Linked DNA regions of Homo sapiens: regions 1, 2, 3, 4 and 5 are each linked to region 6. The links are contacts of gene promoters, found by promoter capture Hi-C in blood cells and fetal thymus (Javierre and others, 2016). All regions are on one chromosome and are shown on one strand. Each heading gives the region's core, a stretch centred on a gene start or on the middle of the fragment in contact. The rest is flanking DNA. Distances are from core to core; before and after follow the strand shown.

The links. The method cuts DNA at HindIII sites, captures the fragments that hold promoters and counts their contacts. A CHiCAGO score of 5 or more calls a contact.
Region 1: a contact is called between a fragment that was not itself captured here and the fragment with the promoter of NUMA1-AS1 in region 6, in 4 of 17 cell types (endothelial precursors, M0 macrophages, erythroblasts and 1 more). The highest score is 11.3, in endothelial precursors.
Region 2: a fragment that was not itself captured here is called in contact with the fragment with the promoter of NUMA1-AS1 in region 6 in 1 of 17 cell types (erythroblasts); the score reaches 5.6 in erythroblasts.
Region 3: a contact is called between a fragment that was not itself captured here and the fragment with the promoter of NUMA1-AS1 in region 6, in 4 of 17 cell types (M1 macrophages, erythroblasts, megakaryocytes and 1 more). The highest score is 5.9, in M1 macrophages.
Region 4: a contact is called between a fragment that was not itself captured here and the fragment with the promoter of NUMA1-AS1 in region 6, in 1 of 17 cell types (erythroblasts). The highest score is 5.1, in erythroblasts.
Region 5: a fragment that was not itself captured here is called in contact with the fragment with the promoter of NUMA1-AS1 in region 6 in 1 of 17 cell types (erythroblasts); the score reaches 5.8 in erythroblasts.

What each region holds. Positions count from the first base shown.
Region 1 is chr11:72,435,616-72,439,911 of GRCh38, forward strand. No RefSeq gene overlaps it. Among named protein-coding and RNA genes, the nearest start is that of CLPB, 3.2 kb to the left of the region's middle. RefSeq lists a silencer at 1,279-1,328. The HindIII fragment of the contact is 797 bases long and covers 2,224-3,020 here.
Region 2 is chr11:72,364,180-72,368,072 of GRCh38, forward strand. All of the region lies in intron 4 of CLPB (ClpB family mitochondrial disaggregase), which reads right to left. Among named protein-coding and RNA genes, the nearest start is that of CLPB, 68 kb to the right of the region's middle. The HindIII fragment of the contact is 4,492 bases long and covers 1-3,668 here.
Region 3 is chr11:72,394,144-72,398,336 of GRCh38, forward strand. All of the region lies in intron 3 of CLPB (ClpB family mitochondrial disaggregase), which reads right to left. Among named protein-coding and RNA genes, the nearest start is that of CLPB, 38 kb to the right of the region's middle. The HindIII fragment of the contact is 4,933 bases long and covers 1-4,193 here.
Region 4 is chr11:72,339,867-72,343,597 of GRCh38, forward strand. All of the region lies in intron 5 of CLPB (ClpB family mitochondrial disaggregase), which reads right to left. Among named protein-coding and RNA genes, the nearest start is that of CLPB, 93 kb to the right of the region's middle. The HindIII fragment of the contact is 1,619 bases long and covers 1,539-3,157 here.
Region 5 is chr11:72,308,446-72,312,440 of GRCh38, forward strand. CLPB (ClpB family mitochondrial disaggregase) reads right to left here. Exons shown (of 16, transcript NM_001258392.3): 8 at 82-159. Among named protein-coding and RNA genes, the nearest start is that of PHOX2A, 66 kb to the left of the region's middle. RefSeq lists a silencer at 19-500. The HindIII fragment of the contact is 237 bases long and covers 2,034-2,270 here.
Region 6 is chr11:72,012,912-72,016,727 of GRCh38, forward strand. It overlaps NUMA1-AS1 (NUMA1 antisense RNA 1), which reads left to right and starts at 1,380. Exons shown (of 4, transcript NR_104178.2): 1 at 1,380-3,816. It overlaps NUMA1 (nuclear mitotic apparatus protein 1), which reads right to left. Exons shown (of 27, transcript NM_006185.4): 14 at 3,497-3,619; 15 at 1-3,349. RefSeq lists an enhancer at 2,034-2,781. The HindIII fragment of the contact is 6,447 bases long and covers 1-1,385 here.

The DNA.
Region 1 (4,296 bases), core at 1,372-3,871, 420 kb after region 6:
AGGGCTTTCAAGTGGGTCATCTCATCTGATCCTCATGGCAGCTGTGTGTGAGAAGCTGGGCAAGAACTGTTATTCCCGTCTACAGTGAAGGGAATTGAGGCTCAAAGGTGAAAAGATTTGCCAGTAAATCACCTGGAGTAAAGTAATGCTCAGGTCTTCTGATTTTGAGCATATAGTTTCCATTAACACCTGCACTCCCATCCCGCCCCCTCTTTTCCAAACTGAACCCATAGGTAGGCAAAGGAGGAAGTTCTTCTTTGTGCCAGTTCTGTTTCTTCCAAGTCTTGTACGTCTGCTCAGACTTCACATGATCAGAGTCTTCCCTGACCATTCTGGTTAAAATAGTAATCCTACGCACCCCATCCTAATTTTCCTTCACAGCATTTATCACCATCTGACATACTACATTTTTATTGTCTTTCTCCACTACAGCATGAGCCCCATGAGACAAGGACTTTGTTTTTTCACTTTTATATCACTAGCACTCAGAACAATGTCTGGAACAAAAGAGGCACTCAGTTTTTTTATTTTTATGTATTTATTTATTTATTGAAGCAGAGTCTTGCTCTGTCGCCCAGGCTGCAGTGCAGTGGCACGATCTCAGCTCACTGCAAGCTCAGCCTCCTGTGTTCACGCCATTCTTCTGCCTCAGCCTCCCGAGTAGCTGGGACTACAGGCTCCCGCCACCATGCTCGGCTAATTTTTTTGTATTTTTAGTAGAGACGGGGTTTCACTGTATTAGTCAGGATGGTCTCGATCTCCTGACCTCGTGATCCACCTGCCTCGGCCTCCTAAAGTGCTGGGATTACAGGTGTGAGCCACCGCGCCCGGCCTGAGGCACTCAAATATTTTTTTCAGTGAATGGATTACTCTCACCTTATTAGTGTTGGAGAGTACTTGAGCTTTGGCATTCAGGCAGACGTGGATTTTAATTTTGACTCTTGCATTTATATGGGTGACCTTGGACAAACTCCCTTTACCTCTCTGGTAGTTAATTACTCATTGTTGAAGATATCAATTCCTGCCTTCAAGATGATTGCTTGTATTAAATAAGATAATATGTAGAAAGCCCCTAACACTGTCCCTGGCTCACAGTAGGTCTTCAAGAAATGGTAGCTATCATTGTATATTCTCTGCTCTGTGTATTCTACACTTCCTCCAGGCAAAGATGGAACTTCTCATTTCCACATCCGTTAGTAAGACAGGAATGAATGAGCGACTTTTTTGGTTTTTTTTGAGACAGGGTCACGCTCTGTTACACAGGCTGGAGTACAGTTGTTACTGCAACCTGAAACCTCCTGGGCTCAAGGGATCATCCCACCACCTCAGCCTCCTGAGTAGCTGGGACCACAGCTGGCACCACTACACCTAGCTAATTTTTTGTTATTATTATTATTATTATTATTTGGGTAGAGACTAGGTCTCGCTATGATGCCCAAGCTGGTCTGAACTCCTGGGCTCAAGCAGTCCTCCTGCCTCAGCCTCCTAAAGTGCTGGGATTACAGGCGTGAGCCACTGCGCCTGGCTTTAATAACTTTTTTTTTTTTTTGAGATGGAGTTTTGCTCTTGTTGCCCAGGCTGGAGTGCAATGGCGCGATCTTGACTCACCGCAACCTCCGCCTCCCAGGTTCAAGCGCTTTTCTTGCCTCAGCCTCCCGAGTAGCTAGGATTACAGGCATGTGTCACCACACCTGGCTAATTTTTTTTGTATTTTTAGTAGAGACGGGGTTTTACATGTTGGTCAGGCTGGTCTCAAACTCCCAACCTCAGATGATCCACCTGCCTTGGCCTCCCAGAGTGCTGGGATTACAGGCGTGAGCCACCGTGCCCAGCCTTGAATAACTATTTTTAAATCATTTTTAAAGCACTCAATAATGAAAGCATTTTGACCTTTCTGTTTTGAGAGATTTTCAGCACATATTATTTTGTTAACCACCCCATTCACTATAGCAACTTCACCTTCCCTGTATTCTTGAAACATTTCTGTCTCCCAACTTAGGGTGGTCACAGCAGGAAGAGCAGTCTCCGAAAGCTCCCATTACCAGATGCAGAGTTCAAACCCTCTCACTGCAGACACATCCCAGGGCCCTTCAGTTTACTTAGCAATGCATAATTTTCAAAGCACTTCCCCATTGATTTTCTTATTTTATTTTCACAGATACCATCTGCGAGGGGTTCAAGGAAGGGTTTAATTACTATCAGTATTTGGTAGGGATACTGAAAAGCTTAAATTATCAATCTCTGAGTGGGGGATGTAGTGAGGAAGTATGGAAACACCCATTAGGGTCGTGTGTGCTTGCTCACGTGCCTGTAATCCCAACACTTGGGGCAGGAGTTTGAGACCAGCCTGGGCAACATGGTGAGATCACAGTCTCTGCAAAAAATAAAAAATTAGCCAGGCATGGGGGTGTACACCTGTAGTTCTAGCTACTCAGGAGGCTGTGGCAGGAGGATCCCCACACTACTGCACTTCAGTCTAGGCAACAGAGTGAGACCCTGTCTCCAAAAAAAAGAAAAATAAACTAAAATTAAAACAAACAAAAAAACCCCACCCATTAGAATCAGCTGGGACTCAGAGTGAATTCTGTATGGTCAATAACCAATCCAGGGCCAGGCACAGTGGCTAATGCCTATAATCCCAGCACTTTGGGAGGCCGAGTTGGAAGGATCATTTGAGGTCAGGAGTTCGAGACCAGCCTGGCTAACATGGTGAAACCCCGTCTCTACTAAAGATCCAAAAAATTAGCTGGGCGTGGTGGCACACGCCTGTAATCCCAGCTACTCAGGAGGCTGAGGCAGGAGAATTACTTGAACCCAGGAGGCGGAGGTTGCAGTGAGCCAAGATCGCGCCATTGCACTCCAGCCTGGGCGACGGGGCGACTCCGTCTCAAAAAACAAACAAACACACAAAAAACTCTTAGGTCACATTTTAACAGATTTTCAACGCAGGATGGCTTCCTTTTGGTCTGCTCAGAAAGCAAAAATTTATATCAGGTTCCAATGACCCCACCTTGGCCCTAAGCTTCTAACTGTTGGGTTGGGAGAGAGAGAACTCCAGTTTTAGTTTGTAGGAAGGTGACTGGGGGATATCTGAATGGGGTTTAGGAGGAGACAGAAAGTGAAGAATCAATGCAGTTGCTGTGGTCAGCTGCCTCTGGCATGGAGTTGGAGGCCATTTGGTGCTACACATTCTATAGGTTTCTGAGAAAAACTTTTCCAGAAAAAGAAAACAAAACAACAACACACACACACATTTTTAAACAAATAAGTAAATAGATAGTAGCTGGGCTTTTCACTGTTGGAGAAAGAAGTTATAAATAGGGAAAAAAAGAAAGCTAAAATGAACCTTGTGGTATTGAATTGGAATCAGATGTATCAGCATAAACTCATGGCTTTAATTTTATTTTTACTTTATTTATTTTTGAGACGGAGTCTTGCTCTGTCATCCAGGCTGGAATGCAGTGGCGCGATCTTGGTCACTGCAGCCTCCGTCTCCCAGGTTCAAGTGATTCTCCTGCCTCAGCCTCCTGAGTAGCTGGGATTACAGCAATGTACCACCGCCCAGCTAACTTTTGTATTTTTAGTAGAGACAGGGTTTCGCCATGTTGGCCAGACTGGTCTCGAACCAGCCTGATTGGTCTCAATTGGTTATTGACCATATGGTTTTGCCACGTTGGCCAGGCTGGTCACAAACTCCTGACCTCAAATGATCTGCCTGTCTCAGCCTCCCAAAGTGCTAGGATTACAGGTTAGAGCCACCATGCCCAGCTGTAAAACTCATGGTTTTTAAAAATAGATACAGACAGATCAATACAGAAATATAAATATGTAAGTATGTATGGGTTCGTGTATTACATATATTACCTAGCCTCTGGGAGGGTCTAGAAGCAATTACACCCTAAAAATTGAACACACCTAACACCCAGACATAAACAGCATTCTCCAATAACCCAGAAACCAGTTACCCTTGGAGAATGGTTGTTTTCAGGACTGGGCAGAGAAAATCCAAAATGAGTCAACAACATCGTATGTGCCAGGAAGTTAGGAAAGGCTCAAAACCAGATGCAGGCTTGTGAAAAGAACACAGGAGCCAGTGTGAAGGAGTTCATAATGACCTAAGTAGGAACAATTTAACTGAAAAGTAATGACCATATGGGGTTTTGATCCACAGAGTAAAACAAATATGATATAAATAATCAAATAAATAAATAGATAAATAGGGGAGGAATGAGGGAAGAGGCAGCTTTCTTTCTTTCTTTTTTTTTGAGACGGAGTCTCGCTCTGTTGCCCAGGCTG
Region 2 (3,893 bases), core at 173-2,672, 350 kb after region 6:
TTCCAATTACTTTTTATTTATTTATTTTTTTGAGATGGAGTCTCACTCTTGATGCCCAGGCTAGAGTGCAATGGCATGATCTCGGCTCACTGCAACCTCCGCAACACTGCAACCACTGCAACAATCCAAGTGATTCTCCTGCCTCAGCCTCCCGAGTAGCTGGGATTACATGCACGCGCCACCATGCCCAGCTAATTTTGTATTTTTAGTAGAGATGGGGTTTCACTATGTTAGCCAGGCTGGTCTTGAACTCCCGACCTCAGATGATCCACCTGCCTCAGCTTCCCAAAGTGCTGGGATTACAGGTGTGAGTCACTGCGCCCGGCCAAAAAATTTTTTTTTATTAAAAAAAAATATATAGAGAGAGATGGAGTCTACCTATGTTGCCTAGGCTGGTCTCAAACTCCTGGGCTCAAGTGGTCCTCCTGCCACAGCCTCCCAAAGTGCTAAGATTACAGGCATGAACCACTCACTGCACCCAGCCTTCAAACAAATTTTCCTTCCCACCTTTTTCCTTTCCTCCTCCCTTCCTGCCACATAGAGGACCCTGGTGACCCCAGTATGACTCCTCAGCAGGCAGCAACGTGTATTAGAAAGACCATGGGGGCTGGAGTCAGCAAGCCTGGAAAGCAAAACTGACTGTGTGACTTTATTAACATCTGTGAGATTCAGCTTCTTCATCTCCAAACAGATAATATCACCTATCTCACAAGAGTCAATGGCAAACCTAATTTAAAAAATGGACAAAGGACTGGAATAGACATTTCTCCAAATAAGACATACAAATGGCCAAAGAGCACATGAACAGATGCTCAATATCACTGGCTATCAGGAAAGTGCAAATCAAAACCACAATGAGGCTGGGGGTGGTGGCTCCTACCTGTAATCCCAGCACTCTGTGAGTGTGAAACAGGAGGATCATCTGAGGTTGGGAGTTCGAGACCAGCCTGGCTAACATAGTGAAACCCCGTCTCTACTAAAAAGTACAGAATTAACTAGGGGCTGTGGTGGCACATGCTTGTGGTCCTAGCAACTCAGGAGGCTGAGATGGAGGATCCCTTAAGCCCAGGAAGTCAATGCTATAGTGAGCCGTGATCACACCATTGCACTCCAGCCTGGAGGACAGAGCAAGACCCTGTCTCAAAAAATAAAATAAGATTCAATTTCTATTTAATGTCCAGATTAGGCAAATCTATGGAGACAGAAAGTAAATTAGTGGTTGCCAGGAGCTGGGAATAGTTGAAGAGAAATGGAGAGTGACTGATAATGAATACGAGGTCTCTTTATGGAGTGATAAAAATGTCCTAAAACTGATTGTCATAATAGTTTGCACAACTCTTGTGAATATACTATATAAACCATTGAGTTATATACTCTAAATGGTGAAGTGCATATAGAACCAAAAAGAGTCCAAACAGCCAAAGCAATCCTAAGCAAAAGAACAAAGCCAAAGGTATCAGACTACCTGACTTCAAACTATACTACAAGGCTATAGTGATCAAAACAGCATGGCACTGTACAAAAACAGACACATAGACCAATGGAACAGAATAGAGAACTCAGAAATAAAGCCACACACCTATACCCAACTGATCTTCAACAAGGTCAACAAATATAAGCAACGGGGAAAGGACTCCCTATTCAATAAATGGTGCTGGGATAACTGGCTATCCACATGCAGAAGAATGAAGCTGGACCTCTACCTCTCACCATATACAAAAATCAACTCAAGATGGATTAAAGATTTAAGTGTAAAACCTAAAACTATAAAAATCCTAGAAGAAAACCTAGGAAATACCCTTCAGGACATCAGCCTTGGCAAAGAATTTATTACTAGGTCCTCAAAAGCAACTATGACAAAAACAAAAATTGACAAATGGGGCCTAATTAAATGAAAGAGCTTCTGCACAGCAAAACAAACTATCAACAGAGTAAACAGACAACTTATAGAATGGGAGAAAATATTTTTGCAAACTATGCATCTGACACTGGTCTAATATCCAGAATCTATAAGGAACTTATGTGGGTCTTTTGTCTTGTTTTGTTTTGTTTTGAGATGGAGTCTCATTTTGTCACCCAGGCTGGAGTACAATGGTGTGACCTTGGCTCACTGCAACTTCCGCCTCCCAGGCTCAAGCGATTCCTCTGTGTCAGCCTCCCACATAGCTGGGATTACAGGTGTGCACCACCACACCCGGCTAATTTTTGTATTTTTAGAAAACCCTGTTTTCTAAAACAGGGTTTCACCATGTTGGCCAGGCTGGTCTTGAACTTCTGACCATGGGTGATCCACCTGCCTCAGCCTCCCAAAGTGCTGGGATTACAGGTATGAACCACCGCACCCAGCCAAGAATCTATAAGGAACTTAAACAACTCAACAAAGCAAAAAACAAATCCCATTTAAAAAATGGGCCAAAGACAAGGACATTTCTCAAAAGAAGACATACAAGCAACCAACAAACATATGAAAAAATGTTCAACATCATTAATCATCAGAGAAATGCAAATCAAACCCACAATGAGATACCATCTCGCACCAGTCAGAATGGCTCTTATTGGTGAGGCTGTAGAGAAAAGAGAATGCTTATACACTGTTGGAGGGAATGTAAATTAGTTCAGCCACTATGGAAAGCTGTTTGGAGATTTCTCAGAGAACTCAGAACTACCATTCAACCCAGAAATCTCATTACTGGGTATATATCCAAAAGAAAACAAATCGTTCTACCAAAAAGAAACAGGCACTCATATGTTCATCACAGCACTATTCACGATAGCAAAGACACAGAATCAATCTAGGTGCCCATCAGTGGTGGACGGAATAAGGAAAACATGGTACTATACCATGGGATACTACATGGAATACTACACAGCCATAAAAAAGAATGAAATCATGTCCTTTGCAACAACATGGATGCAGCTAGAAGCCATCATCCTAAGCAAATTAACACAAGAACAGAAAACCAAATACTGCATGTTCTCACTTACTATTATTATTATTTTTTGAGATGGAGTCTCTCTCTGTTGCCCAGGCTGGAGTGCAGTGACACAATCTAGGCTCACTGCAACCTCTGCCTCCTGGATTCAAGTGATTCTCGTGCCTCAGCCTCCCGAGTAGCTGGGACTACAGGCGCGTGCCACCACACCAGGGTAATTTTTGTATTTTTAGTAGAGTTGGGGTTTCGCCATGTTGGCCAGGCTGGTCTTGAAATCCTGACCTCAAGTTATCCGCCTGCTTTGGCCTACCAAAGTGCTGGGATTACAGGCATGAGCTGTGTCCAGCCTGCATGTTCTCCCAAAGTGCTGGGATTACAGGCGTGAGCCACTGTGCCCAGCCTACCTGTTCTCACTTATAAGTGGAAGCTAAACAATGGGTACTCATGGACATGAGTACCCTGTTGGATGGCAACAATAGACACCAGGAACTCTTAGAGGAGGGAGGGATGAAGGGGGGCACGGGTTGAAAAACTATTGGATACTATGCATAGTACCTGGGTGATGGGATCAATTATACACCACACCCCAGCATCATGCAATATACCCAGGTAACAAACCTGCACATGTAGCCCCTGAATCTAAAAGAAAAGTTGAAATAAAAATATTTGATACAAAATTAAAAAAAAAAGAAATGAGGTAGGAATTCTAGTGAGGTGTGAGAGGAGAGGAAGAGAAGCTTTTTTATATTAAGCTCTTGTATAATTCATTTTCTTTCTTTTTTTATTGATATATAATTCACACTCCATAAAAACAAATGGTGAATTGTATAGTATGTAAATTAAAACTTAATAAAGCTGTTAGGTTAAAAAATATATGTAAGAAGATAAGCATATTGCCTGGCATGTAGTAAGGACTCAATAAATGGTAATAAATTCATTATTGTACCCTTTCCTCTTCCT
Region 3 (4,193 bases), core at 1,002-3,501, 380 kb after region 6:
ATCCAAATATCTTACTAAAAGCCTGAAACACCCATGATATCTACTGCCGACCCCTGGCCCACCAGCCTGGCAGCTCTGTTAAAATAAGCAGCTTATGGTACAGCTGTTTTTAAAGAAGTCTCTTAAAGAAGAGGTATAGAACTAGACCATCTCACAGTTCCTAGAGATGGAACACCCTGCCCCAAGCAGCTGAACTGAATGAACACTGGATGCTTTCCTATCCCCAACTGCCACTCTCCATAATGAACACTGGATGCTCTCCTATCCCCAACTGCCACTCTCCATAATGAACACTGGATGCTCTCCTATCCCCAACTGCCACTCTCCATGAAGACAGCACTGAACACAGAACCCCAGGACAGAACAGAGCATTGGGCCCAGGAAGTATACCCTGAGACTGTCACGTTAGGCAAATGAGCTGGCACTGATTTCCAGGGAGCAGCGTCTTGAGTTGCCTGAGGTTGAGGCATGTGTCTGCCAAACTACGAGTGCATGCTGGAATTGGAATATCATTACCACAAAACAGGATTATCTTGAGCAACGATTCCAAATGGGATTAGAAATGACTCTTTCTTACTCAGAGATAATCGGCCATAGCAGTAGGGGTGGGAGAAACGTCAAGCCCAACACTTTCCTGGGGGCACGGTGCTGCGGTGCTGGCATTCTGGGCACTTGGCCAGCACCCTCACCCATCCTTCCTTGCTGGGGAATACTGGGTACTGTCCTGCACTGGGCAGGTGGCCACCTGTAACAAAAGCCAGCCTATATCAAGGTACCCTGCTCAGGGGTCCCATGTTCTTGGGTTCCCTGCCGGTTGCTTCTACGAGCACATCTCTGCTTTCCACCTTTGTGAGCCTATGCTCACAATGGTCCTTCTGCAAATGCTCTCCCCCTACTCCCTATGTTACCAATCAAATCCTGCCCAACTCCTCTGAAAGGGCCTCTTTTCATGATGCTGGCTCTACACAGCATCATCTCCTCCACAGCACTCTATGTGTTCTTCTCTGTGGCACTGAACACATTCTGCCTCATTCTCCAAAGCGGGACTTTTATCCCTTTTCTGAGTGTCAGCTTTCTGAGAACAAGGAGAGTGGCTTGTCTGTTTTTACAGTTCTCAAAATCCATATAATACATCATGGGTCATCAAGAAACCCTGATAGAGCCGACTTGACTCCTGGTTCCAGCATCCTTCGGTCCATCCCATGGCCTTGCTCCCGGCCCCTTCCCTCCATAGGCAGTGTAGTCCAGTGGAAAGAGCAAGGGTTTGGGGTTCAGAAAGACCCAGCTTCAAATCCTGGCTCCTTCTTTTACTAGCTGGACAACCTTGGACAACTCTGAGCTTCATTTTCCCTATCTGTAAAATAGGAATAATAATCCCTTCCTTTCAAGATTGCCCTGAGGATTAGACCCAACATGGGAAGTGCTTGACATGGGCCTGGCACACAGAAAGCACCCAATCAACTACTGCCATCATCATTACTACAGTCAGGAGATCACACAGCACAAAGCCCAGCCTCCTTGGGCAGAAGGTAGCCCTACTCTACAGCACGAAGCCAGACCAAGAATAGGTTAGAAGACGGAAAAGGCTCTGTGCCCCTAAGGCAGGACCGACTTCCATGTGGTTGGTCAGGTTCCCTAAGGACCTACTTTCAAGCACAGGTACACTGGTACTCTACCTGCTCCACGTATAGCTAGCCAGGAAGGAAGCAGAGCCTCCCAGGGAGGCTGCCAGTAGTCTAGCTGCAAGATTAGCATCTGCTCTTCGCTCTAAGAACACCCATGGAGCTGTTGGGGTCCACAAAGGAAGGCCTTTAAAACCTCTTCTGTAGGACAGCAATCTGGCTTAGGCTATCGGTTTTTTAAAGAAAGGGTTTAATGCACCCTCTCCCCTTAGTAAGGCAGAGGGAAAATAAGCAAATGCTAAAAATAAATGACTGCTGTGAGAGGGAATTGAATGGTCTTCAGCCAAGGATGGCAGCACTTTAAAATTAACAAAGCCCGGGTACCACATCCAGGAAGGCCTTGGCAAATGCGTGTTATCCACTCATTAGCTCAGTTCCTCGGGGACCCTGGCCAAGCAGGGAAGGCAGTGCCGGGAACCAGTCCTTCCGACACTGATGAAATGCACTCGGGGAGAAAAGGCAGAAGGAGGGAGGGAGACTCTTGTGGGGAATTTCAAACAGTTCTGATGTGCTTCATGCTCTGCCTTGCAGTTCTCACCTTCTCCGAGGCAAAGGCTTGCAAAAGCCACCACCAAGCCCAAGCAGGATGAAATCAAAATCTCCCCACACCAGCCTCCCTTTTCAGGATCTTTGGTTCCTGAAGCACCACAACGGCCTCACTATATAGGTGGTGTCCCTGCATGAGAGTCCAGAGATAAGGAACCCAAGAATAGTGTGGGAGAGGCAAGCTCCCAGTCTGTAACCTCAACTTTCTCCTTGCTGGAATGAAGAATCATATACTTTATGAATTTATACAAGTCCACTGTACACTACTCATAAAGTGAATTTATCACTATTCATCAGTAATTATACTTCATTACATCACTGATAGTATGAATTGACAAATCTTCATTCCCTACTAAAAATCAGAATGCATATCACTCTAATGTGAGATATCATCAACAATAAGAATTCAAAACATTCCAGGTGACCATTAACAATATGAATTAATTTTGATACTACTAATACAAATTCTCAGTATGCCACTGGTCACAATTAATAATGAAAATTAGAGAGGGATGACAGCTTTTTAAAAAGTGTTTAAAGTCAGTTTACTGAAGTATCACATTTACACAGAGTAAAATTCATCCTTTTTAAGATATATAATTTAATGAATTTTGATAATTATATACATTCATGTAACCAGCATGATAATCAGGATACAGAATATTTCTCCATCATCCCAAAAAGTTCCTTTATATTCTCTTCCCATTCCCAAACACTGGCAACCACCAATCTGATTTCTGCCCCTAAAGTTCTGTCTTCTCCAGAATGTCATATACATGGAATTACAGAGCAGGTAGCTTTTTGTGTTGGTTTTAGCTTAGCATGGTGCTTTTGTTGTTGTCATTGTTTGTTTGGCTGTTTTTACCGTATGGATATACCACAATTTGTTGGTCCATTCACCAGTTGATGGACATTGCATTATATCCAGTTTTTGGTGGTCATGAATAAAGCTGCTATAAATATTTACATACAGGTATTTTTGCAGACGTACATTTTTATTTCTCTTAGACAAATACCTAGGAGTTGCTATTGCTCTGTGGTATGGTAAATGTATACTTTACCTTTATAAGAAACTGCCAAAGTGTTTTCCAATGTGGCTATACCATTATGCATTCCTATCAGTGATGTATCAATATTGTTCTGTATCCTTGTCAGCCCTTAGTATTGTCAGTTTTCCTAAATTTTAGCTACTGTAGCAGGTATGTAGTGGTATCTCATTGTGACTTGAATTTGCACTGAGTATGTTTTCATGTGCTTATTTGCCACCCATCTCTTTTTCGATGAAGCATCTGCTAAAATATTTTGCCCATTTAAAAAAATTAGATTTTTTTTATTATTGATTTGTAAGACTTCTTTATATGTTCTGGGTACTACTGCTTTATAAGATACATGTTTTTACAGCTCCTTTTTTATGAATTAGAAATTATAAGAATCTAAGTCTTACAATTTTTCTTCTAAACCACTATCCTCTGCACATATACTCTAATTAAGGGACTAGGAACAACTTAAACTTCTAATTTACAAACATCTTAGTGCTGCTGGAACAGAGGGCCAAGAAGTACTTAAACCGTGCTAAAACTCATGAGACTATTTTTATCTCCATTGCAAGCACCTAACAATACCAGAGCTTTAAGGAAAGCTACATCTGGAGAAATGACTGTCCTATGAACAGCTTTTGGCCCCCCAGGCTCTGCACCTCCCAAAGCCCTGTTCTGGTCCACCAGACTTCTGGAATGGTCAACAGTCGTCACACTCCATTGCTGGCCATTGTTCACTGGGAAAGGTAGGAGGCTCCCAATCCATCCCTCAGTGGAAGAGCAAATAGTGGGGCCTGTGGCTGCTTGGACATCAAAGTTGAGCAAACAGGCCTGGCAGGCCCTGCCTCTCCGCCTACACATCCTGCAAATGCCATCTGAAGGAGCTTCCCCAAGGGGGTCATGACTTTCAGCCTGTCATAGAACACAT
Region 4 (3,731 bases), core at 1,098-3,597, 330 kb after region 6:
CAGTAACAGTTTAATCAAGGCCAAATCACTTGCTTAAACTTACTACTGGCTGTGAGAATGTAAGTGTACAGTGAAACAGAATTTGTGCATTTTTGTGCATGACATTTTGCTCTTATACCTTGAGTTTTGGTCTTTGGCTGGGACTTGTTTATGAACCTACAGATTGTCTTACAAGTGGCTGTGGTGTCAGGGTGAAATGATTTAGCCAGCAGGGCTACCCAAGTCTCCATTTCTTACCCACCCTATGGGGACTGCTTCAACACAGACATAAACATGCTCCTGCCGTTACCTTATTGCACTCGTCACACGGGGAGGCTAGAAGGCTTGATTCAGGGATATGATTGGATTTTAAATCCCAGTCTCACAGGATTTTAATTACTGGTTTGGGGCAGCAGAGATAGGCGCTGGCTGCCTTTGGATGGAGGAGGTCGATACACCAGTCCACGACATATTGAGCCACAATGCCTGCAGACTCTATTGCTCTATTTAATCATCTTTTGCAAAATTTACAGTGGAACAGGAGGGATCGATACGGAATTTATCACATTCTCTTGTAAATATGAGCCAGGAAAGAGTTCCAGGCAGTTTGTTACTGAGTGGGAGGGAACATGTCTGTGTACAGCTGGGCATTAGGAGATGAGACAAAATCCATACTTCTTGGCATAAGCTACAGACATTCAGCCAGTCCCTCTTACGCCTGAAGGCAAGTTCAATGGGTAGAATGCTGATTCATTCATTCATTCAACCAAGCAACCAACCAACATTCTAGATTACCTATTTTATGCCAGACCCTACAGAGGACAGGGTGGACCCTAGAGAGCTCTGGGAACATACACTGGAATTCTGCTTATGAGATCCTAATCATAGCTATAATAACACAATGGCTCTGCCACTTAGTGGTGAACCTTGGTTGTTACTGAACTGCTTGGTGCCCTTGTTTATGCATATGGAAATGTAGATAATAAGAGTCCCTAACTTGCAGAGTTATTATTATTATTTTTTGAGCTGGAGTCTCGCTCTGTCGTCCACGCTGGAGTGCAGTGGCACGATCTCGGCTCACTGCAAGCTCCATCTCCTGGGTTCACGCCATTCTCCTGCCTCAGCCTGGCACCACGCCCGGCTAATTTTTTGTATCTTTAGTAGAGATGGGGTTTCACTGTGTTAGCCAGGATGGTCATCTCCTGACCTCGTGATCCGCCCACCTCTGCTTCCCAAAGTGCTGGGATTACAGGCGTGAGCCACCGCGCCTGGCAAGTTATTTTAAGTATTAAAAGAGAGAAAAGCCTTAGTCCAGAGCTTTTATCAAAAAATGGTAACTGTTGTTATTTTTCCTTCAATTACTATTACTAACCATTCCTTCCTACAGTGGATAGGGTGTTGAACAGGGAGCCGGCTACCCTACCTCCTTAATAGACAGAAGGGAGACTGGATGGCCTTCCCAGGTTAGAGATCTGGTCAGGGCCACCAGCAGCAGAATCAGAGGAGCAAGAGGAAGAGGGTGTGTAAGGAGGAGATTCATGTTAAGCTCTGTTTTTTGAAGCTTCAATTGCAATCTTTAAAACAATAAAATAGTCTCCTAAAATTGCTGTGGGGGAACAGAGTGAGAAGTGATTCACTTCATGTAGGCCAACCATGGAAAGTTATACATTAAAGATATAAATGAGTTGGATCTTGAAGGCTAAGTAGGAGTTTGATAGGTGGAGAAGTGGGGAAAGGATATTCCAGGCAAAGTGAATGAGGACAGGTTTGGAGGCAGGAAAAACTATGCTAGGTAGTGAACAGTTCAGTGGGCCATAGGCAGAGACAGTTCCTGTCTCCCAGGCCTACTTGGCTGCAGGCATCCTCCTGGTAGGCCCACAGGATGATCCCAATCCTGAAGCAAACCATCATCCTCATCCTCTCTTGGAAACTGGTGGCAGAAGTCACTTTAGAGTGACTGCATGCTGGGTTAAACATCTGGGCTTAATTTATAGGCAGTGGGAACTGCTGAAGGTTTTAAAGCAGGAAAGTGACATGGTTTTGTGAGATGGAGGCTGGTTTGATGGGATCCTAGAGGTAGGAAGAACAAGGCTGTTATAATAGTCCAGGTGAGAGTGATGAAGCCTGAATTAGAGAAGTGGGGACAGAGGAGAGAATGGGCTTAAGATGAAATTCTAAGAAAGACAGGGCTTGGTGGAAAGTGAGGGAGAAGTCATCAGACATAACACTTCCTAGTTTGAGCGACCAGTAGACAACCATACTATTCATCAAAGAGAACATGGAAGAAAGTGTGAGGAGGTATGGATTTGGACGCATTGAGGATGAGAGATGTCTACGGAATATTAAGCATCAACAAAGCTATGGAAGACATGAAAATGCCTGGTTTGTTCTACGGAAAATAGGTAGATCAGTGTGGTTAGAAAGAGGTGGTATAAAAACCATGGAAATGAATATTCAAACATAACAGAGTTAGACAAGGAAAACAGCAAAAGCAAAAACTCCTGCCAAGGATCTCTGGTCAATGCAAAGCTAACGTAGAGGTTTTCTAACGGTGGATAATGCTCTGAATAGCATGTGACACAGGCAAAGAAGTGAGGATCCTTAGCTCATTTTCATTTTGGACAAGTCCCAAAATGAAAATGTTCACGACTTTCCTGGAAGTCGTGGGCTTTCAAGAGGCCAGCCCTACTCCTCCTTATCCCCACAGTATAGCACAGACTCTCCTCAGAGGTGGCAGCAGGTTCTATGGCCAGAGAGCAGCTAGGAGCAACTGTCAGTGGGGAGGGAAAGGCTCTGGATAAAGCAGAGTTCAAAGTGCACTATCAGAGCCAGGGTCCTCAGGCCTCTGCAGTCTTCCCTCCTGCAAATGACAGCTGAGACCAAAGCATCCGAGCCTGGGGTCTGGGCTGAATTTAGCAGTCATAATTACACTGTTAACGTCTGGGGCACAGCCACAGTCTCCGTAGAAGGCGGCAGCTTTTGTTCATGCACTAAAAACACATCATCTTCAAACATGCTAATCCTACGTCTGCTTCCATCTAACAACATTGAAAGGAGGCTGAGGAAAGGGCACACAATGCCCACACATCTGGCTAATTCAGTTATGAGGCCAATCAATCTTGATGGGTTGTCTACGAGACCCCAACCACCCCAAAGGACTGAGCTGACCAGATGTTTAAGCTTCTGTTGACCAATCCTAGCCTAATGTGCAGGGCAGAGAAGAGGGGTTATCAAGAGATGACTTTTGCTTCCACTTACACATCTATTCCCAAAGCCAAGTAGAGCCCTCTGCTTGGATGAAAAGTATCAGCACATTAAAGTAGTGGTTGAGCCAAGCTCACTGGAATGAGGTACACTCAAATATACAGACTTTCAGTCTGAACTCAAGGAAGATAGGAAGCCTTATTTATGGCTGCCTTTGTGAACACTCACAGCAACAGAAACCAATGAAATATTTTTTGCTAATTGCACTTCCCTATATGGAGAGAATCGGAAATGTGGGGGTGGGGGAGGTAGTATCTTCAACTATAATATCAAATGTTATAGGCTACGGTTCTGGGAACAGGAACTGTTTTATCTGCTGATACCTGCTTTCATTCAAGGCTGAAGGAATTACTCATCTCCCTCATAAAACATTTGCTTTTTAAAAAAACCAGAAGCTTCTGCCAACAAGGACTCTTCCAGTTTATGCACCTTCTTTTATGCCCAACCACAGTCACCAGGCAACCATCACCAAAAATAAAAGTGGAAAG
Region 5 (3,995 bases), core at 902-3,401, 300 kb after region 6:
CCGCAGCAGCTGGGGCTGTCAGACTTGGGCCGGGCACTACCCTAGCTCTCTGTCCCCACTGGCTGATCTGCTCCCAATTACCTATTCCAGATGATCCCAAGAAGAGGAAGACCAGAGGGTGTTCTTCATCGTACCAGCCATTCTCCTTCCTCCGGATCGCTACGGCCAAACACACAAGATCAGGGGACAGGGAGGGAGGCAGATAAATCAATGACACAAAAGGCAGGATAATTATCACTAAGTATACAATATGTTTTACTGCTCTGCGCCCACTCAAAGTCCTCACTACCATTAGTGCTGCCTAATCTGATTAGCTGGCAAGGCCCCTAGAGACACGTAATCAGGTTAGCATGGATTTGGAAAGCTGCCCAGAGCAGATTTCGGATAAAGTTTTCCAGGATGAGCACTCAGCGTTGCTAGGGAAACTGAAAGGCGGGTGGATGGTGAATGGAGGTGAAGGGGGTGGGGGACTGGTGAAGGAGAATTCGAGAGGAACTTCTGCTCTCACTGGTTACTCATCTACTCATCGCTAGTGGGACTACGGGCCGCCTCCTATGCAAATACAAGAGGCAGAAGCCCATGGCAGGCCCTTGGGGATGTGGGGTGTGAGCCCTGGACTCTTTCCTGTCTGGGGAAGCTAAGGTCTGGTCCACTGTCTGGGTCAGAAAGTGGAAACACAGCCAAATGCATTTTCTGGAAGTCAATCAAAGGCAATGTGGAGCTCAGGGCATGGAAGGGGTAAGCCACATGGTTACCAGAGATGCTGACCATAGCCTCCAGTGGTGGAGGGAGTGGGGAGCACGGGGAGTGGGACAGATAGGTACCAGGTTCCTTGGAGGCTCAACTCTGCTAGAGCAAGACCTGACCTCCTCTTCAAGAGGACGTATGTAATTAAGGGCTATGCATTCAATCTGAGAAAACTAAGTGCTTAATTATGGAGTAGGAGAATCAGGCTCAGAAACATTCTCAAGTATACGAGTGGGGGTGGAGTGAGGCAGAACTGCAAGAAGAATCATGCACTGAACATGCTGTATGCTAAGCACAATGGGAAAATTCACCAACAACGTATCTATTCAAGACCCACACAAATACCCGGAGAGGAAAGTAGTATTCTCAACTCCATTATACTGAACACGAAACTGAGGCAACAGATAGAGACTTGCCCAAGTCACACAACTAGTAGATGGCAGAGTTGCTTCTCTCTCTAAACCTGTCGTCTTTTTTTAAAAAAGTAACATATGGCTGCTCAAAAAAGTATGAATTTTGGTTGCACTAATGGAAACACGGCAGTCAGGAGCAGGAAAGAGAGTACTGTGTAATGTCAAGGTCAGTCTGCAAATGGAACAGCATGTCTGATCTGGTCCCCAGGGTGTCAGGGGAAAATTAGCTAAGGGATAGATGTCAGAGAACAAGGCCTGGAACACTAGTCAATGGGGAAAGATTTGACAGTGTTTGGGATGTGTCTGCCCATCTTGAGTTGCCAAGATCCTAACTACTATACTGTGTGGTTGGATTTCAAAGAAACGACTGCAGAGGTCTGGGAAGGTTCTCTGGAAGAGGCAGGACTGGTGATGGATCATGGAGGATGGGCAGGATTTGAAGAGGCAAAGGTGGCCAGCATGTCAGAGGTGGAGAGACAGGAATGATCATGAGGAGTGGTGGGGTGGGACCAGACTGTGAAGGTCTGGAATACTGTTTTAGGAGTTCAGCCTCAAGCCAGTGGTCTTTCTCATCTCGATCTCTAATGTTCCTGCCTAAAATACGACTTTCTCTCTACTTCTGGCCTCAGTAGAAACAGATGGAAGCTGTGCAAATTCATGGACATCAGACTAGCCACTTCTGCCTGCCCAGAAAATGCTCCCTGAGAATCCTGAAAGAGGCCTGAGAAAAAGCTCAGTATAACCTCTCTCCTGGGCAAGAATCCAGATTTTGTCTAAACTAACTGGCCCAGGATCTCTGGAAAGGCTGGCTATAAGGGGAACCCACAGACCTCATAGGTACCTGAATGCTGGGGATGAAGAGGGAAAAGTGCAAGCTTGGCTAAGCGGGGAGTCCCTGGTGTCCAACAGAAACAGGGAGCTGAGAGTGTGGGTATCTGAGGAAGTGAAGATATTGAAACGGCAAAGGCTAGACTTGTGAATACTGTGTGGACATGTGTGTACGTGTTAGGGCAGGGGTGACAGCAGTGACGTGAAAGGAGCCGTGTTCTTCTAAAAGTTGGCTAAATTAAGAGTCTAGGTTGGAAACAAGTTGAGCATGAACTGAGTTCAAGCTTCATGGGGTATTTGGGGAGGGAGATGTACCCAGACATCCCCCTACGTGGGTTCTGCAGGGTATCATGTACCTGGGGTTCTGATCCTGCCTTTTCTTTTAAGGTAGCATCCCAGCCCACAGAGAGCTGCACACTGCTGGGCTGTGCAGTACAAAAACACCATGGAGAATGAGGAATTGAATTATGCCTGGGGCCACTGTTCCCCGCTTCTTTTCTAAGAATGCACCTGGGAGAGAGCTCTTTATAATGCCAGGCAGACTTCACTGCACAGCTGTCCCTGGTCAATTCTGCCCGACCTAGGGCATGAGTCCGGGGTGGGCTTGATGTGGGTCCCCTGTGAAACAGGTGAAATGCCAACCATTAAGCAATTCCAACTCTGGATATTTCTAATAATATCTGAAGAGAAAAACAGCCAAGCAGATGGAGTCTGACAGAATGAAAAATGGTGGCAGCTAGGAAGGACTGGAGAAGGCGGGCCCTAGTGTTTGTGGTTGGCAGGGTGGCCGAGGACCAAGGCTATGGGCCTTGAGGATCCCGTCAGGCCAGAGTAGAGGCTGGGACAGAGACCTGCATGGGCCCACGTGGGAGGTGGCCATAGTTGTTGTTGCTCTCACTGTGGCCAGCAAATGTATTTACAACTGACTCACTTCAACATTTCATTGTTGTCTATAAAGAACTTCTGTAGACATAATTTCATTTCAGCCTTGTGAGGTAAGCAGAACAGGGGACTTGATTTCCATTTTATAGGTGAGGAAACATGCACGCAGAAGTTAGGTGACCTGCTTAAGGTTACAGGGGGAAGAAACAAAGACCCTGGGCTTTACCCTCAGTTCTGGCTTAGCCTGAGCCTGCGCTGTACTATGGGAGCTTAGAGGAAGGTCAGCTCTCCTCCTCTGACTCTCCGCTGCCACAGCACCTCCTCACACCCTGACTCCTTGGAAAACGTTCTCTGTAGTCTTCCAATCTGGCCTGCTCAGCCATTCAGCACATGGCCTCAGGAGCCCCTGTCCCCTAACCCTGTCTTGGTCACTGCTCTTGGGCTAGAGATGGTGTCAGGGCCCTCTGCACAGGCAGCCTGGCTCCCTTCTCTGGCCAGTCCCATCGCCACAAGCTCCAGGCAGGCTGCTCTGCCTCCCAGCAGGTAGTGCCGGGTGCCCACCTGGCTTGTGTTCTGCTTTCTCCTGGCCATGCTTGTCACTACTGGACCATCTGAAAACTCACCTGCAACAGCTCTTTTTGATTCACTCCACCACACCACATCTAGCCATTAACTTGCAGGTCTGTATTCTCTGGCATGCATTCATCTACCGGGTGGTATAGTGGAGAGGGCAGGAGTTACAGGATCTAGCATGGAGTCCCGCCTCTGTCACTTACCAGCTGACTGACTTTAAATAAAACACTTATTCCTTTAGAGCCTCCGTTTCTTCCTCTATAAAATGGGAACAGTCACATATACTGTGTCAGCCCCACATGCAGATTAAACAAGTTAATGGTGATGAAAGCAATTTGTAAGTGGCGAGGAGTGGGATAACAATAAGAGTAAAAATAATGGTAGTCATAGCAGCAGCAATGGTAGTTACCATTAGCTTTGGTATTTTACAGTAACTCTTTCATCCTCCTAATAATCCTGATAAGTAGGTGTTATCTCCATTTTACACAGGATACCGAGGCTCAGAGACGGGCAGTGTAAGGTGTTTCATCTACCTGTGCCCTTGTGTCTGGC
Region 6 (3,816 bases), core at 130-2,629:
GCCTCTCTTCCTGGAACCGCTGCCTCTCCTCCAGGACCTTGACCTTGGCACCCTCATACTTGGCAGTCATCACCTCCAGCTCCCGGGCAGTGCTCTGTGCTTCTCGCTGCACCTCAGCCAGACGGGTCTCAGCATCAGCACGTACGGCTGCCAACTCTTGGACATACTTCTCCCGGGCCTGGTCCAACTCCACTTCCAGAAACTGCCGGCCAAGGTTGGCCCGCTCACCCAGCCCCCGGTTCTCCTCTGCCAGCAGGCCATGCGCCTTCTTCAGCATGCTCAGCTGCTCTGCATAGCTGGCCTTCTCTGCCCGCAGCTGCTGAGCTGTTCGCTCCTGCTCTGCCACCTTCTGCCGCAGAGGAATCAGCTCCCCAAGCTCCCGCTGGGCCCGCAGCAGCTCTGCCCGCAGTCCCCCAGCGGCCTGCTTGCTCTGCTCCAGCTCCTCACGGTGGCGTTTCTCGGCAGCGGCCTGCTCGGCCTGCAGCTGCTGGCAGAGGTGCTTAGCTGGCAGCAGCTCACTCACCAGGGCCTGTGTGCTGGTGTGCTCGAGCTGCAGGGTGGAGAGGGCCTGCTCTTTCTGGAAGAACTTCTCCTGCCACGCCTTCAATTCTTGGCCCAGCTCCTCCGCACGCTCAGCCTGTGAGGTCAGCTCCTGCCGCAGGTTCTCTGAAGCCACCCGCTGTTTCTCAGCCTCCTCCCGGAGGCTCTGCACCTCCTCCCGCAGAGCAGAGCTGCGTTCTGCAGCTCTGGCACTGTTGCTGGCTGTCTCTGCCTGCAGCAGGCGCAGCCTCTCCTCCAGCTTCTGGCTCTTCTCTGACTCGGCCATCACCAGCCGCTTCAACTCCTTGCTCTCCCCCTCCTTCTCCAGGACCTGGCGATTCAGGATGGACACCTCCTCCTCCAAGCTGCTGATGAGGCTATTTTTCCTCTCAGCCTCTTGCCGGCCCCGGGCCACCTGGGCCTTCCACTCATCTTCAGCCTTGCTGTGGTCTTGTACCTTGGTGCGGAAGGCAGCCAACTCCCGTTGGGCCGAGGCTAAGGCACTCTGACTGTGCCCTAGCTCCTGGGCCTTCTCCTCTAACTGGCCCTGCAGAGTCTCCAGAGCACTGTCCCGCTCAGCCCGGGAGGCCCGCTCAGCCTCGAGGCTGCGTTCCAGGCTGTCAGCCTGCTCCTGCTGCTTCTGGCATTGCTGTTCCAGCTTGCTCACCTCTGCCCGCAGTGCCTCCAGCTTGGGGCCTGTTGGCTCTGTCCTGCCAGCAGCCTCAGATTGGGCTCCTGAGCCAGATGCGTGCTCCTTTTCTTTCTTAGCCAGCTGTTCCTTCAGTTGCTTCACGGTTTGCCGAAGTTCCTCCAGCTCTTTTATCTGGGCTGCCTCCAGACCACGAAGCTTGGCCAACTCCTGGTCCTTGCCTTCCTTTTCCGTCAGGGCATGAGCCAGTGCCTCTTGCAGGGTAGCGAACTCCACACGCTGCTCGTTGAGGGCGTTCTGCAGCCGCATCTCAAGCTCTGCTCTGGCCGCCTTCTCCAGGGCAAGGTCAGCCTGGGCACGGCCCCGCTCCTGGGTCAGCCGCGCCACCTCCCTTTCCTGCTGCCCACGCTCCTCCTGCTGCTGCCCCTGGCTCTCCATCAGCGCGGCCCGCAGCCGTTCCAGCTCATTGCCCATCTGCTCTGCCTCCCGCTCCATAGCCTGCAGCGCTGCCTGTGTGCTGCAGAACTGGCGTCCCTGTTGCTCTTCCAGCCACTCGGGCTGTCTGTCTCCTGCCCTCGCAGGCTCCTTGACTAACTCCCGGGAGGCTGTTTCCTGCTGCTCACCTGCCTTGCGCACCAAGGTCTCCAAGCGGGCCACCTCTTTGCTGGTGGCAGCCATCTTTTCCTGCAGAGTGGAGAGGTCATCTGCAAGCTTCTGGGCCCTGACTTCCTTCTCTTGGACCTGCTGGAGTGCTCTGGCCAGGTTGGCATGGAGCTCAGCTAGTTCGTTCTGCTGCCGGCTTATCTGGAGCTCGCTGTGGGATTCTATGCCTGCCACCTTCTCCTTTGCCTCCTGCAGCTCCTGGCGGGCCTTCTCACATTCCTCCTTCAAAGTCATCAGCTGTTCCTGGAACATGGCGCCATACTGTGCCTCCTCTTGCTGGCTATCCTCATACCGCTCACGCCAGGCAGCTACTTCTTTGACGAGCTGCTCACACTCACTCTCAGCTGTGTGCTGGGCAGCCATGGCCTCTGCCAGCTCCCGCCGCAGGACTTCAGTCTCAGCCTGATGGGCCTCCCCAAGCTGCTGTAATCGAGCCTCCAGCCCCTTGCGCCCAGCCCTCTCTTCTTCCAGCTCCTTTCGTTCCCGCTTATGCTGCTCCACCAGGCTTCGGGTCTCTGCCTTCAGCTCAGAGATACAACGCTGCTGCTCTTCCAGGGCATCTGCAGCCCTGCGCTTCTCCTCTTCAAGGCTGCCCTTGGTGACCTTCAAGGACTCTTTGAGGGCCTGGAGCTGCTCCTGGAGCTGGTCCTTCTCCTGGGCCACCCTTTCTTTCTCAGTTGCTTTTTGCTGCTCAGACCGCAGCTGCAACTCTAGCTCTGCAACCTGGGCCTGGGCCTCATGCTGTTCCTGGCGGGCTGTCTCAACACAGGCCTGGAGTTCCTCCACCTTCCGGCTCAGCTCTGCCTTCTCCCGCTGGGCCTGTGTCACTGAGGTCTGGGCACTGTCCCGGGCTTCATTAGCCACCTGAAGTTGCTGCTGCAGAATCTCCAGCTTGGCAGCCTTCTCCTTCTCCAGTGCCTCCAGCTGCTTGAGAGCCGCATCCCGCTCCCTTAAGGAGGCCTCTCGCTCCTCTGCAGCAGTGGCCAGTTGCTGGGCATGGTCCTGCCTAGTTGCCTCCTGCTTCTCCGCTACCTCCTTCAACTGCTGCTCCTTCTGCTTCAGGCTACTGCTTAGCTGCTCCACCTGGTGGCGGAGGCCCTGGGAGGCCTGTTCTTGCTGTTGGAGGGTCTGTGCTAGCTGGGCCTGCTTCTCTTTGGCCTGCTGCTTCAGGCCAGCCAGTTCTTGATCCTGTTGCTGGATGGTGGCATTGAGTGTGGTGAGCTCAGAGGTCAGAGAGGCCACCTGGGCAGTCAACCGGGCCCCATGAGCCTGGGAGGCCTGCTCCAGCTCTTCCTTGGCCTGGCTGAGGTTGGAGATGGAGCTCTGCAGGTCAGTGATCAGGCTAGACAGCTGCTGCTTTTCTTCTTCGAAGTGGCCCCGCTCAGCAAGCAGCTTGGCTTCCTGCTGGCCTCGCTCAGTCTCCAGCATCTCTACCCTGGCTTGGAGCTGTGTGTTGTTTGCAGCAAGAGTGGCTGCCTCTTGCTTCAAGGTTTCCAGCTGGTGGTATAAAGAGACAAACTGGGATCAGCATGACTCCTCAGTCATCAAGACTCCTCTGGAAATGGAGGAACACCAGGAACCCAAATGTACTGAATGTGAGTCCACACCAACCAGCAGCACACAGGTCTTTCTGTGCATTCCTACCTGCAAGACATCACCCAGCACCTCGCCCTTCTCCTGGGGTGGGTTATCCTGCAGCTGGGACAAGTGTTCTTCCAGCTGTGAAAGTTTTCCCTGAAGGATTTCGTTCTTCTCTTCAAGGCATTTCTGGGAGTAAATGAGACCCATGTGAACAGAGAGGGGGAACAGGCACCAGATTACCACACAAGCCCTCATAAACATCAGCAAACATGGGGCCCATCATCTTGTTACCAAGATCTCCTTTTGCCCTGGCCTAGAAAAAAGCAGAAACCATGGAACTGGGAGCATGAGGGACCTGATTCTCTAGACCTAGTTCTAAGGCA